2 separate regions of the Homo sapiens genome follow, and region 2 is linked to region 1. Evidence: promoter capture Hi-C in 16 types of primary human blood cells and fetal thymus (Javierre and others, 2016). All regions are on one chromosome and are shown on one strand. The core of a region is centred on a gene start or on the middle of the fragment in contact, and the rest is flanking DNA. Distances in the headings are between cores, read along the strand shown. Region 1 holds the start of PCDHA2 (protocadherin alpha 2). Region 2 has its middle 7.1 kb from the start of PCDHB1-AS1.

Region 1 (7,499 bases), core at 3,307-5,806:
AAGAGATAAATTTAAAATTTTTAAACTTCATGGACTTCATAGTAATGAGATGCCTTTGACAACTTATTGTAATACTGCACTTTTCAGTACCTTTAAGAGTTATACTAATTGCAAAATGGAATGTCACATGAGAATTTATAGCAGAGTAGACTCCATACTGATTATTAAGAGATAAAGGTAATATTAAAGGAACTATGAGTTTAGAAGATTGAGCCATTTTGTAGATAAAGTATCAGTGAATAATTTCTACTACCACCTAGATGTCACTTAGACAACCAAGAAAAAATGTAAATAAGAATGTTTTGAAAAAACTTATAGAGCAACAGATTGTGACTCCTGGAGATTTGGATATATGTGAATATAATTTTAGAAGCTTATCATTTACCTATGGTAGAAACATAGTGGTCAAGTATTACTTGGAAATGGATATTCTGACCTAACTATGAAATGGCTAAAGGTAAGATCACTAGTGGAAGTTATTTCTATGATTTATCAATATGCACATATATTTAGAATAAACAGCAAATAACTAAGAACTAAATAGTAGAGGACCGTTTAAGACAGTTATTTTATTGCAATACATCTGCCTTTGGTTGGAAAAGCTAAAAAAGTTCTTTCCAAGTGTAACATTTACTTGTCGAGTTCAGTGTTATAATTACCCAAAATAAATGTTTCAAGTGAAAATGTAGTCATCCAAGACCAGGCCTCATCTTTTGGAAAAATTCCAATTTCATTAGGAATATGGATGCTTCCAGGTAAAATTGAGTGAGCTCACATTAATGGAAAATGTATTCCCACGCATAGAATTAGATGCCAGAAAAAAGTAGTCAATCTCTGCAGTGGGAGGCCTGCACACATTGGCCTAATGATAATGATACTGAAAGGATGATTTATCAACCATTAACATAAAGACTGGGTAGTCTCCACTTAAATGAAGAAAAAGTCCCACCACCTGAAAAACCCCAGTGTGATTTTTAAATGTTAATATTTTCAAATTAAACAAAATTGAGAGGGTCTCTTTTCTCAATACTCTCTATTTTTGCCTGATAACTCAAAAATGTTATCAGTGTGAAATCTTTATACCAAATAATGGGTTATTTTACTTATAAAAAACATACTTAAGATTAGCAGTTATTCCTAAGTGCTGTCATTTTGTTGTAACAACCTGTGCTACATACTTTTGGAAATTCTGGTGTTAAAATATCCACTCAGGCTGCTTTCAAATACAAATAAAAAGACCAGGTGCAGTGGCTCACTCCTGTAATCCCAGCACTTTGGGAGGCCTAGGAGGGTGGATCACTTGAGGCCAGGAGTTTGAGACCAGCCTGGCCAACATTTAGTTGAGACCAACCCCGTCTCTACTAAAAATAAAAAATTTAAAAAAGAAAATAGCCGGGCGTGGTGGTGGGCGCCTGTAATCCCAGTTACTAAGGAGGCTGAGGCAAGACAATCACTTGAACCCGGGTGGCAGAGGTTATAGTGAGCTGAGATCACACCACTGCACTCCAGCCTAGGTGACAGAGCAAGACTGTCTCAACAAAAACAAACAAACAAAAAAAAAATGTAGCTTATTAACTATTGCATAGACAAGGGCATTGTTGATCCAAAGAACAATCTAAGAAATGTCCAGGATATAGGTTATTCCAAACACTATCCGACAGATTGGATAGACAGTGTCAGTTGAAAATACGTATTATATAATCAAATTCTTTAATTTCTTCCGATTGTGATTTTCAATTTTTAAGAGAGAAAATATTTATGGGAAATGTTTAATTTACAAATTTTGCTGAGGTGTTTTTCAGTGTTTCATGGTCTATTACTTATGACTTAATGATGGAAGTGCCAAAATGTAAAAATAAGAAAACAGTTATGTAGATTGTTTAAATAAATTGTTCAGTAAATGCAATAAATTGATCTCTAATTCATATTCAAAATCGCACGGTAGGATGATATAAAATAAATGAAGAACTATGAATCTAAATAACTAGTAGAAATCATATAGAATTTTTTAAAAAGAACAATTTTAGAATTGGCAAGAAAAAGTAAAAGACTCACCTTTCCTACGTATTCTGATTCTGAGAGCTGTTTCTCTTCTGCGGAGTCTGGACCTTGAGATAAGCTAGGGCTGAAGGCCATGAGGTCCGTCTTGGGGGGGTCCTCCCCAGAGCACACCCTCTGCCGCCTCTGCTGCGAGTAAGACCAGCTCCCCACGGCGCTGGAGCACACCAGCGTGGGCTTTCCTGGCGCGCGCGCACCCTCGGTGGGTGGCACCGAGCACCGCAGCGCAGTGTACAGCAGCACCGTGAGCACCAACAGGCTGGATACCGCGCAGATGGCGATGATCAGGTACACGTTGACATCCACCAGCGTAGCCTCTGAGCCCGCGGCGCCCACCCACGCCCGCGACGAGGCCTTGGGTGCCTGGCCACTTTCCACCAACGACACTAACACGGTGGCCGTGGCTGTCAACGCTGGTTCGCCGTGGTCCTTCACCAGCACGAGTAGGCGGTGTCGAGGGGAGTCAGCCTCGTCTAGGGCACGTGTCGTGCTGATCTCACCCGTGTATAGCCCCACGCGGAACGGGATGCGAGCGCTGCCAGTACCCAGCTGAAGCTCGTACGAAAGCCACGCGTTGTAGCCTGAGTCAGCGTCCACTGCGCGCACCTTCGCCACCACGTGCCCTGCACCCACCGACCACGGCACCAGCTCACTCACTGCGCCAGCAGCGGTGCCAGCCCTAGGCGCCAACAGTGCCGGCGCGTTGTCGTTCTCGTCCAGCACGAACACCTGCAGCGTCACGTTGCTGCCCAGAGGCGGCACGCCCGCATCCCGCGCGCTCACCTGGAACTGCAGCAGCTCCACTTCCTCGTGGTCCAGCGGCTGCAGCGCGTACACCTTGCCGCTCTCCGCGTGCACCGAAACGTAGCTCGACAACGCGCGCTCGCCCACCCGCCGCTCCACCAGCGAGTAGGACACCAGCGCGTTCTCCTGCGCGTCCGCATCCCACGCTGACACCGTGAAGATGTGGCAGCCCGGCGGGTTGTTCTCCTTCACGAATACTGTGTACTCAGGCTGTGCGAACGCCGGCGCGTTGTCGTTCACGTCGGCCACCTCGATGGACACGCTGGTGGTGGCCCACAGTGAAGGCGAGCCCCCGTCCCGTGCGGTCACCACCAGCTCATAGGCTGACACGCTCTCGCGGTCCAGGGCGCTGTCCAGCACCAACGAGTAGTAATTCTTGAAGGTGGACACCAGCTTGAAAGGGACGTGGGGCGTCAGGGAGCAGGTGACATGTCCATTCGTACCAGAGTCGCGATCCGACACCGTGATGAGAGCAATGACAGTGCCCAGGGAAGCGTTCTCTGAGATGGGAAGTGAGAGAGACGTTATTGAGACTTCTGGTGTGTTATCATTGATGTCCACAAGTTTTAATGAAATTTTACAATGTCCTGACATTGAAGGGGTTCCTTTGTCAGTTGCAGTGACCTGAATCTCGTAGGACTTTGCTTCTTCATAATCTAATTTTCCCTTAGTTCTGATTTCCCCTGAGATGGGATCTATGGTAAACTTAGTCTGTATAGTGGAGGACACATCACTACCGAGTGAATACACAATCTCGCTGTTCGGTCCTTCATCTGCATCAGAAGCGTTTAACTTAACCACTAAGGTCCCATTTGCCGTATTCTCTAACAATTTTACTTTGTAAACTGATTGGGCAAAAGTTGGTTCATTGTCATTTACATCTAATACCTTAATAAGTATTTGAACGGTGCCCGTGAGCTCAGGTTTGCCCCCATCAGTAGCCACCAGTAACAAATTAACCTCAGCAGTTTCCTCTCTGTCCAGCGATTTCCCCAGCACGAGAGACAAAGATTCGCTTAGTTCATCATTTGCCTGTATATCTAGGAAGAAAAACTCACTGGAGCTGAGCTTGTAGGAGAGAAGAGCATTTACTCCTATATCTGCATCAGATGCTCCCTCTAGAGGAAACCGAGAATCAAGCAGCCTTGATTCGGGAAACCGGATAGTCTTTACTGTCATTGGAAATATTGGCGGGTTGTCGTTAATGTCCTTCACCTCCACTTCCACATGGAAAACCTGCAGCGGCCTGTCCACGATCACCTCCACGTGGATGCTACATTCCGCGCTCCGCCCGCACAGCTCCTCCCGGTCGATCCGAGAATTCACAAACAAAATGCCATTCTGCAGATTTACCTCCAGAAGGTCCCCGTGTCTTTTGGACGCCACCCGGAACAGGCGCGGCACCAGCTCCTCCAGCTCCAGCCCCAGGTCCTGCGCGATGCGGCCCACGAAGGTGCCGTGTTTGGCCTCCTCGGGGACGGAGTAGCGGAGCTGGCCGCTCCCCACCTCCCAGGCTGCGAGGAGCAGAAGCGAGAGCAGCCGTGTCCAGGCCCCTCGGCCCCTTCTGATAGAAGACGCCATTACCAATCCTCAATGTTTTGATCAAATTAGAAGAGCATGTTTTGCAAAAATTTAAATATTCTAGTCTCTGTTAAAGTCCTGCTGCTTCTCTTATTCCTCCGCTTCTCTGAAGTAACAAAGGGGCTCTGGGTATTTTCCTTCCTAGAGAACACTCTATGGTGGACAGCGACATCATGTGGCTAAAAGGAAGGCTCTACTGTTTATTCTGTAGATTTAAAACTAGTCGATTTTCTGGTTTAAGTTTACTCATAGCTTTCATCTTGGAAAAAAATAACTATTTTAAGCCCTAAAATATATTACCTTTTTACCCTTTTTTACTCTGGTTAAAAAACACACAACATAATATTTAAAATTACCATATTAACTATGATTAAATGTACATTTCAGTAATGTTAAGTATATTCACATTGTTACAAATTTTTCATCTTGGAAAACAGAAACTCTATACCCATTAGACAACAACTCCGCTTTTCACCGTCACTCCAGTCTCTGGTAACCACAGTCCTATTTTCTATTTCTATGAATTTCACTACTTTAGATATTTCGTGTAAGTGGACTCGTAAAGTATTTGTCTTTTTGTGACTGGCCTATTTCACTTAGCACAATGTCCTCAAGGTTCATCCATGTTGTAGCATGTGACAAGATTTATTTCCTTTTTAAGGCTGAATACTAGTCCATCGTATGTATACACCACGTTTTGTTTATTCATTCAAGCATCCGTGGATGGTTCCTCAAGGTTCATCCATATTGTAACATGTGACAGGACTTCTTTCCTTTTTAAGGCTGAATAATAGTCCAACATATGTATACACCACGTTTTGTTTATTCATTCAAGTATTCGTGGACATTTGAGTTGCTTCCATTTCTTGACTGTTGTGAACAGTGCTGCCATGAACATGGGTGTGCATATATTTCTTTGAGACCCTGCTTTCAATTCTTTTGGATATATTAGCATTTTTCACTATTTCTTCAAATGAAGAACATAGTAATCAAAGGTATTTTAGTCCATTGAAAATATATGTGTATATATACTGTTGTTTTGTGATTTAATTTTGATTTTTGAATTGTTTGCAAATGTTTTGAAATTAATAATTTATTTGTTTCTCATTTGGATAATGTACTATTACTTTAGAATATTCCTTTTCCATTACATTTAGACTTTTATGCAAGAACAATACAATCGATCTCTTTTTTTGTGTTAATTACTTGAGAATATCTTCTTTTGTTAATTTTTAGCTGATCCCTTCACAGTAAAAAAATGAAAATAGAATAAAGATAAGATGAGGATGAAATAAAATGAATCAAGGAGTGGGATAGCATACAAAATCCATAATAAAGGGTCACCTTCAGTTACTCTAACCATGTCACCAATTTTGTTTTCAGCTTCCTAGAGCAAAGAGAGAAGTAAAATTAATTGCAAAATTTGCAATGTCCGTAAGAGAAAAGCAAAGCTCTTGTTAAGAAAAGCTAGCTTTTTTTCCAATAACAATTTTTTTCCCTCATGTACAGTATCTTAAGATACTCATTTGTACCATCTATGGAAATGTGTATTTATGTTAATCATACTCTAACAGTAAATCCCAAGTTAACCGATTTAAGCAAAAATAAACCAGAGAATCCTGTACTGACTCATACATGGAAATGGGTAATTAATTACTGGTTTCAGACAGAGCTGGGTCTACACCCTTCCATAATTCCATAAGGAAAATAATCTCCACATTTATAATTCCTTTTCCCCTGCTGAACTTCTTCTCAGATAGACTTTTCCCATCTGCTGGCAAAATGGCCAAAGTAGCTTTCTAGACTAAAAATTACCAGTTTGATGACTCTTACCAGAAAGTGCTCTTTTCTAATAGTCCAGCAAAAATCCTGGATATTACTTCCTACAGCCCAGTTTGGATGATGTAAATTTCCTTTAGTCAATAATTGTGATTTTTCTCACATTGGCTAGACATGGGTCCACTTGCTCATTCTTGAAGCCAGGAAATGAAATCAGCTCCACCTAAATTATGTGAACTGAAAAGTGGGAGGTTGGTTTTTATGTGAACTGAAAAGTGGAGGTCATGGCATGTACCCAAATTCTCCTGGAGCTTAAACAGATGGCAGATAGCTTCAGAACTGCTCGTTACAGCATTATGTAGTTGCAAAGCAATTGCATATGTATGATACCCAGTAATTATTATTTAATCTATAGCCAACATTGACCACTGTTGACACATAGAAGGAATTATACCTAGAATCCAGATGCTAGCTTCAGGAAACATGGCTTGCTTGAGACAATTTCTGCAATCATATAAGGTAATTAATTATACCGGATATTCAGAATGACATATGTGGGGGTATAAGAGGCATTTTGTGCTGTTATTTAGGATTTCTGAGAATATGGAATATTTCCCCCTTCCCCCGGAGATAGAATACTATTGCCAGATATGCAAGTACATTTCCCCCACAACGGGGAAAAGAGATTAAGAAGCCATGCTCAGCAAATATCCTTCCTCCCACTGCACTTGATATCTCTTGGTACCTGTTTTGGGTCAAAGATACCCCAAAAGACATCACTTTTCTGAGGTTTAAATAAGTGACCTTATTTGGAATAAAGGTCTTTGCAGATGTAACAAAGATGAGGATCTTGATATGAGATCATCCTAGATTACAGAAGGCCATAAATCCAATGATGGTTGCCCCTTATAAAAGACAGAAAAAGAGAAGGCATATAGTAACACAGGAAAGAAGGAAATGTGAAGACAGAGGCAGGAACTGGAGTTATGCTGCCACAAGCCAAGCAATGCCAAGAGCTACCAGAAGCTGGAAGATCCAAGAAAAAAATTTCCCCTAAAGTCTTCAGAAGAAATGCGGCCCAGGAAACACGCTGATTTTGGACTTCTGGCCTCCATAAGAGAGAAGAAATTTATTCTTACAGAGACTCTGTAAGAAAATAAATTTCTGTTATTTCAAGCCACCAAGTCTGTGGTAATTTGTTGCATCAGCCCAAGGAAATTAATATAGTACCCATTGCTAAAATTATACCCTTTGCACCTATCTATGGAACTGTATAT
Region 2 (7,556 bases), core at 1,480-3,979, 290 kb before region 1:
TCTGTTTCTCTCATACAGAACTTGACTCTTATGGGCCTTACAAACAGATTCTTTGTGTCCACTGTCATGGAGTACTGCACATCCTGGGAAACCAGAAGCAAATAAGTTACTTGGGTGTTTTTCTAAGTCTCTGTTTATGGCAGTGTGCTGCTAAAATGCACACTCTAGGGCTGTGTTTTCATACTTGATAAGTGCAGAGGCAGTTTGGTGAAAATGAAGACCTGGTTATATTGTTTCCTTTCAGCTTACAGTAACTCCAGATCTCTGGCAGTAATCATAGAATTGTACTTGTCTTTAATCTACCTCTATTGAAGGCTTTAGGGTGAAGGGAAGGTGGTATTATGAAGCCCAAATATCTATTTTTTTTTCTGTGATCTGGATCTGAAACACAGGAAACAGCAGATATGGTCTTAAAGCAGATATGGCTCCTTGGGACCTAGTTCATAAATGATGACATGATGATTAGGAGTGGACTGTCTTTTACAGCAAGAAGTTACATTTTCTAGAGTCTTTAATTATTGATGATCTCAGAATCCACACTGTAGATTAGTATAGCCTTGGAATTTACGGGTTTGAGTGATGGGTTTGCTTTTGGTACTTTTATACCAATGTAAATGCTTTATTAAAGTTTTCATTAAGTCTTCAGTAGCCCGGTAAAACCTTAAAGATAGTTTTATATTATACCTTGTATCCAAATTCCTGATAGAAAAGTGATAGCCAGGGAGGAAAAACTTTTTTTCTGGGATTACTGTACTGAACTACTATATATTACAGCTGAGTAAAATCACTGATAACCCACAACTTTGGTGAAGACCAATGCAGATTTGGATCTATGTGGGGACCCACCATCCAATATCATGATAGTTAAATTAACCTCAACCCATTTCTTTCCACTGAGAAAATTGCCCATCCTCATTCAGGATATTTTCTGCCACCATTCTCTAAGCAAACAGAAGAGAAGACATGGGAATTAGGATTCAAAATATACTTATGAATACTGCTCTGTCTACATGTTCTGCCATCTATATGGTCTCTACAAGATGCTCTCCTTGATTTTTTGCAGCATTCCTAGATCCAGTAATACACACTAGTGAATGGCTATATCTGTGAGTCCAAGGCACCTTGTAAAAATGTAACTCATTTTTCCAAGTTACCTTTCTCAAGGCAAATGAGTAACTCAAATGAGTTACATTTTTCCAAGGTGCTTTGAGACTCACAGATGGATCCAATTTCTATTTAGTACCCACTCCTGAGTCTTTTGATTTGAAAATGCAGTTTTTTAAATCTATAGAAACATGAATTACCCTCTCGCTCCCCATACCTCTCAAGTTCCCCATCCTAAGGCCCAAAATCTCTGCAAAATTAGCAATGAAGGAACCACTCTCCAGCACCTCTGGAACAGAATTCTGCAGTTCAGTATCCTGAATGGTACATGCTTAGTAAAACAGAATCACACTTTGTTTTAGACTGGGCTTTAAGTATTACATTATTCCTTCTTCTAACACCTTCCAGCAAATATGGTCCTACACAAACTCTGATCACCCTAATGTTTCTATTACTTATGCCACCAGAATCTTAGACATCCAATACAACTTTCACAGACAGGGTAATATAATATGAAACATACAGCACTGTATTTGCAATCTGCTTTAACCACCATTTGAGCCTGCAGTGCCATTATAGGACCGCCCCCCACCCCCCGTCAGTGCATTAAACTCTCTAGAAAGAAAAAAAGTATTTGAGAAAGGCAAATGAAAACACCAAACACTTTGTATTTATGTAATTATTATCCAGTGTATTGAATAATGTCTGTTTTCATTTTATCAGCAACTATCATAAATATATTAAATATCAACAAATAGGTCTTATTTGAGGCATATTCTGTTGTATCTTCTTTAATTTTCCTAAGCCATACAGGAGAGTATTAAACACTGACATAAAGAAAAAAAAGATAAGATTGTTTTGTCGGTCTGTTTTACATGACATTTAATGTACTGGATATGCTATGATATTAATTGCCAAAGAATTAATCATTTTTGATGTTTAATAAGGAAACAGTAAAAATTAACAAACACAAATTTAACATTGACATAAATAAGCTACACAGCAACTCAGTTGATTTACGTCTTAAATAACGAAAAAGACATTTATTTCTACAGTTTTTTTTCTTGTAGTTGTATATCTCCATTTGATTTCGTGGTCATCAATATCACCAAAATCATCAAATGACTATTTCAAATAAAAAGTTAAAACCATATATTAATAATAGTAATCAAGTAAATAGTTACTTAAACTAAGTAAATGGAGACCAGTCCTGCTGAAAAGTAGACTATCACAACTTGTCAGCCATCATTTACGAAATATCAAGAAAAGCAAAAGATGACTTTAAAATAAATAGCTTGACCTTCTTTGAGAAGTTACGAAGACTATCATTTTATGGATTGAAGTGGGATGAATTTCCTTGTCAAGCTTCAGAATATCTGCTAGGACAGTCTACTCAAAGTTTTAGGGGTAATTTACCTTTGAGAAAGATCAAAGGAAACTAGGCATGAGCAGAAAAAAATGCGTTCCTTTTCTGTGCTTAACAATAAAGAGGAAATACACTACTAGATTCTAAATAGACCTTTGTGAAATAGATAAAAAGATAAAAATAGCTAAGCCATCAATATCTGTTAACTGTTAATGAACAATTAGCTATGCTTCAGAAAAAAAACACGATGGAAATTAGAGCCATAAAATAACCAAAACATTCAGAACGGTGCTGTTATTCCTCTACCTTTTATCCAGAATCCAAAAGGAAGAACGCCAAGGATGATAGCTGTCTCTACCTACTGTCTTGTTTTGAGCTTCCTGGAACCTAATTTCATTGGAAATACAGTGATGTTGCGTGTAGCTCTCTTTTCTGGTTTGCATTATTAGGTTGTCAGATTATGGAATATTTTAAATATCCAATGAAAAGAAAACTCTGGTAGGAAGGATCAAAGCTTTTTCTTGTTTTGTTTTGTTTTTGTTGTTGTTGTTGTTTTATCTCAGGGTGCTGAGATTATGGTTCTTAAACAGATGAAGTCTTCCCAGAAGTGCTCCAGGATGAGGCAGATAAGTGTCAACATGACCAATTCTATGTGATTGTCATCCAATGGCATGGTCTTCCACCGTCCTTCACATGAAGAAACAATTTCTGAAACTATTTCTGCTTGTAATTGCCTGAGTATTTGCCACGTGGCACTGAAATTTCCTGGTAATTCTCTTGCAGTGGATGCTTATGATGCATGGGGTATCAGTGGTATTTAAAATGTTCTGCTAGCATTTAAAATGCTCTCCAGAGGTTGCAGAATTCAGTGAGCCTGGAGAATTCTGAGAGCCGATTCATAATTATTTACTCAGACTAAATCTTCAGCCGGTTGCTGTGAGACCTGCATCTCAAAGATTGTCATTGATTGTCATGACTTGGACTTAGGAGGTCTCAGATATCTACCATTCTTCTCTGGGAGAGTTAAACTTACCTTGGGCTGTGGTTCATCCAGCGATTTTTTTCACGCGTATGGACAAATTACTTACCCCAATATTGCACAGCACATTATTGTGAACATGGAAATTGAAAATGAGTGTGTAGTTTCCAATGATGGAAAATTTACCCAAACCTCATACATGTTCCTGGTGCACATTCTGGAACATTCAGAAGAATTTTTCAAAGGAGGAAACGGTTACACCTCAGACACAGATTTTTCTCAAAAGACAAATTTTTTTTTTTTTTAAATACAGGTAATTCTTGGAAATGCAGGGCTCCTATAGGTCCGATTTTCTACTTGAGAGCAAGGACTCTTCTGTGGGTCGATCTGAAATATTATTTGGTCTCTTTGGAAACTATCCTGCTCCAGTCTGTCCTCCCGCCGCTCCCCTTTCCGCCGCCAGCGCCAATCTCCAGAAACCCTGACCATAAAAAAGCAGTTTTCCTTTTCCTGGGCCGCCTGCGCTACACCCGGGAAGAAAATGAAAACCCACCACCTGCGTTTTCTGCCAGATTTTTTTCTCGCACAATTTCCTGTATATCCTCTGAGTGCATTGCCTTTAGTAAATGAAGTCTTCGGAAATCCTGTAAGACTTCCAAACATTTGTGTAGTCCCCATTCGTTTGAAGAAAGCTCTAAAATCTGAGCTCGCTGCGGACGTTTTCCAACTCGTATCTGTTCCCAGCACCTTTCAGATTTTGTCTTTTCTAAGATGGAGTCTGCAGGCAAATGCAGGGCTCCTCCTCCTCCTACTTTTTAGCCTGTAGTGCCACCAGGCGTCCGAACTGAAAACCTGGGCTGTACAGCGCTTTCCTGCGGAAACTGTCAAAATCTGTTCATATTCACATCTAGGGGCGGAATTCTCACCTCTTGAGTTTTAATTACTTCTCCAATATTTAGTTTACTTAATGTGAACAAAAACAATGGTTGTTTATTATCATAATATCAGCTGTGAGATTTCCTTTGAGAGGAACCGAATTGGATTTCTTTCATTTCAATCAAGCCAGTCATTTGGCCATAAATTCATTGAACTGATTAATTCTTCGCAGGTATTTTTTACACACAGATTATATTCAAGCACTGTAAAAGACATTGGGGATATAAAGTTGAGTAAAGTCTGGTGCCTACACCGCAGGAGGTTAGAATATTAAAAAGGTGACTCGGTGATTTGCATAGGCACTATCAGGTACTAAAAAGGGATATTTAAGAACAGAAGTGAGGTATCAGGAAGAGTCTCAGAGGAGGTGAGGTTTAAGCTAAGTTTAATTTTATGGTACCAACTTAAACACAAACCCATTGAAATGATTTTCTACTGCAGATGAAGTATTTCTGATTTTGCAGGAAATAAGATTTTTCTCGAATGATGTGAATGAACATCGTGGCCCATAGCGGGGTTGCAGTCTTTCAGTCAGTCAACATCACAGAGCCCTGTATGAAGTGTCAAGGGATGACAACTAAAAGACTAGGGATAGGGCCGGGCGTGGTGGCTCACGCCTGTAATCCCAGCACTTTGGGAGGCCAAGGCGGACAGATCACTTGAGGTCAGGAGTTCGAAACCAGCCTGGCCCACATGGTGAAACCCCGTCTCTACTAAAAATACAAAACAGCTGCATATGGTGGCTCATGCTTGTAGTCCCAGCTACTTGGGAGGCTGAGGAAGGAGAACTGCTTGAACCCAGGAGATGGAGGTTGCAGTGAGCCGAGATCATGCCACTACACTCCAGCCTGGCCAACACAGCAAGATTCTGTCTCAAAAAAAAAAAAAGGATAGGGATAGGCCTCTTTTTTCTCTTTGAACTTGGCTCACATCTCCAGTTTAAAGGAAAATCCTGCAGCTTGAGTTAACAATATCTTAAGGAAATATTTAAAGTGGTGATTAAGACTTTATGATGTTGGCTGGGCACGGTGTCTCACGCCTGTAATCCCAGCACGTTGGGAGGCCAAGGTGGGCGGATCACCTGAGATCAGGAGTTTGAGACCAGCCTGGCCAACGTGGTGAAACCCCGTCTCTACTAAAAATACAAAAATTAGCAAGGTGTGGTGGCATGCGCCTGTAATCCCAGCTACCCAGGAGGCTGAGGCAGGAGAATCGCTGGAACCCAGAAGGCAGAAGGCTTCGGTGAGCTGAGATCGCACCACTGCACTTCAGCCTGGGGAACAGAGCAAGACTGTCACAAAAAAAAAAAAAAAAAAAAAGACTTTATGATGTTAAGAGTCATATTCAAGTCCTGGCTCTGCTTCTTCACATACATTAAATTAGGAAAAGTATTTAATCTCTCCAAACTTCTGCTTTCTCATCTGAAAAAAATTATGGATATAATAGTGTTATCTCCTTCATGAAGTTGTGACAATCAAATGAAACAGTGCAGGCCAGGCGCGGTGGCTCACACCTGTAATCCCAGCACTTTGGGAGGGTGAGGTGAGCGGATCATGAGATCAGGAGATTCAGACCGTCCTGGCCAACATGGTGAAACCCTGTCTCTACTAAAATACAAAAAATTAGCCAGGTGTGGTGGTGCGCACCTGTAGTCCCAGCTACTCAGGAGGCTGAGGCAGGGGGGAATCACTTATACCCAGGAGGCCGAGATTGCAGGGAGCTGAGATCAAGCCGCTGCACTCCAGGCTGGTGGCAGAGCGAGATTCCATCGCAAAAAAAAAAAAAAAAAAAGAAAGAAAGAAAGAAAGAAAAAAGAAAAGAAAAGAAAAGAAAAAGAAACAGCGCTTATGAAATGCTCAGCTCAGAGCATGGAACATCATGGTACTTCATAAATGTTTACTATTATTAGTGTAATACTATGAAAGCAAGAACTTCTCTACATTGTCTGGTTTACTCCTACAAACAAATATAAGTCTAAATGACTCCTACACTGCACTCTATTATCCTTCTCCCTTACCTCAATGGAACATGCAGCACATTCTTATTTATGCAAAAATCTAGAACCTTTAAGCATAGCATAAGTTATGAGAATTTCACTCACAGTTTCACCCTTGTTGAATATGAATTATTTTCATTCCTGCATATTCAAACTCTCTCTTTTCAATGAATTATTTGATCTTATCATCCACCTCAAAAATCTTGCCAGAAGCTGGGCACAGTGGCTCACACCTATAATCCTAGCACTTTGGGAGGCTTAGGTGGGCGAACTGCCTGAGCTCAAGAGTTCAAAACTTGCCTGGGCAACAAGGTGAAACCCTGTCTCTACTAAAAATACAAAAAATCAGCTGGGCGTGGTGGCGCGCCTGTAATCCCGGCTACTCGGAAGGCTGAGGCATGAGAATTGCTTGAACCCAGGAGGCAGAGGTTGCAGTTAGCTGAGACCATGCCACTGCACTCCAGCCTGGGCAACAGAGTGAGACTGTCTCAAAAAAACAAAACAAAACGAAACAAAAACAAACTTACCAGGATCCCACACTTCTTTTCAGCTACCATCTCATTTCTATTAATTTCTTAAATATTCAAGCTTCTTGAAAAGATTTTATACACGTACTGACAATACTTCCTCAATTCCTCAGTCTCTCCTTAAACTTTTACAATTCGACACTAAAAGTGTTCATTAATTCACTTCCATAATGCCAAATTCAGTAGATACTTTCATTCTCTTCTCATTTGAACTTTCAGTAACATTAAACATAGTCCACTATTCCCTCCTTCTTGAAACACTCTCTTCTGACTCCTGTGACAGCACCCTCTTTTGAAATTTTTTCTCTCTACCCATTCCTTTTCAATCCCTTTGGGGACTCCTTATTTATCCTTTATATATTAAGGCTTCTTAATTTTGTTTCCCCTATACACTTTCTTTTCTTGTTCTATCTTCTGTTTCATGGAATTTTAATATAGCAATTGCTACATACTAAGTGTGCCATAGTGGGAAGACCCTTTAACCTCCCTGACCTTATTACGATTCTTCATTTATAAAATGTATAATGTGTTCTTTATACTAATACAATACCCAATTTCTACAAGACTCAATTTCTTCATCTGTGAAATGGGCAATAAATTCTTAAGAGACAATGAGATCAAAGATGTAGAGAGACATATTAAAATATA

What was found. Contacts are between HindIII fragments. The CHiCAGO score rates a contact against its expected background, and 5 or more counts as called.
Region 2: a fragment that was not itself captured here is called in contact with the fragment with the promoter of PCDHA2 in region 1 in 4 of 17 cell types (M2 macrophages, endothelial precursors, M1 macrophages and 1 more); the score reaches 7.2 in M2 macrophages.

Annotation. Positions count from the first base shown.
Region 1 is chr5:140,791,909-140,799,407 of GRCh38, reverse strand. It overlaps PCDHA2 (protocadherin alpha 2), which reads right to left and starts at 4,556. Exons shown (of 4, transcript NM_018905.3): 1 at 2,056-4,556. The coding sequence starts at 4,443. The region is part of intron 1 of PCDHA1 (protocadherin alpha 1); the gene reads right to left. It also overlaps PCDHA@. The HindIII fragment of the contact is 8,329 bases long and covers 376-7,499 here.
Region 2 is chr5:141,081,316-141,088,871 of GRCh38, reverse strand. It overlaps PCDHB@. Among named protein-coding and RNA genes, the nearest start is that of PCDHB1-AS1, 7.1 kb to the right of the region's middle. The HindIII fragment of the contact is 515 bases long and covers 2,472-2,986 here.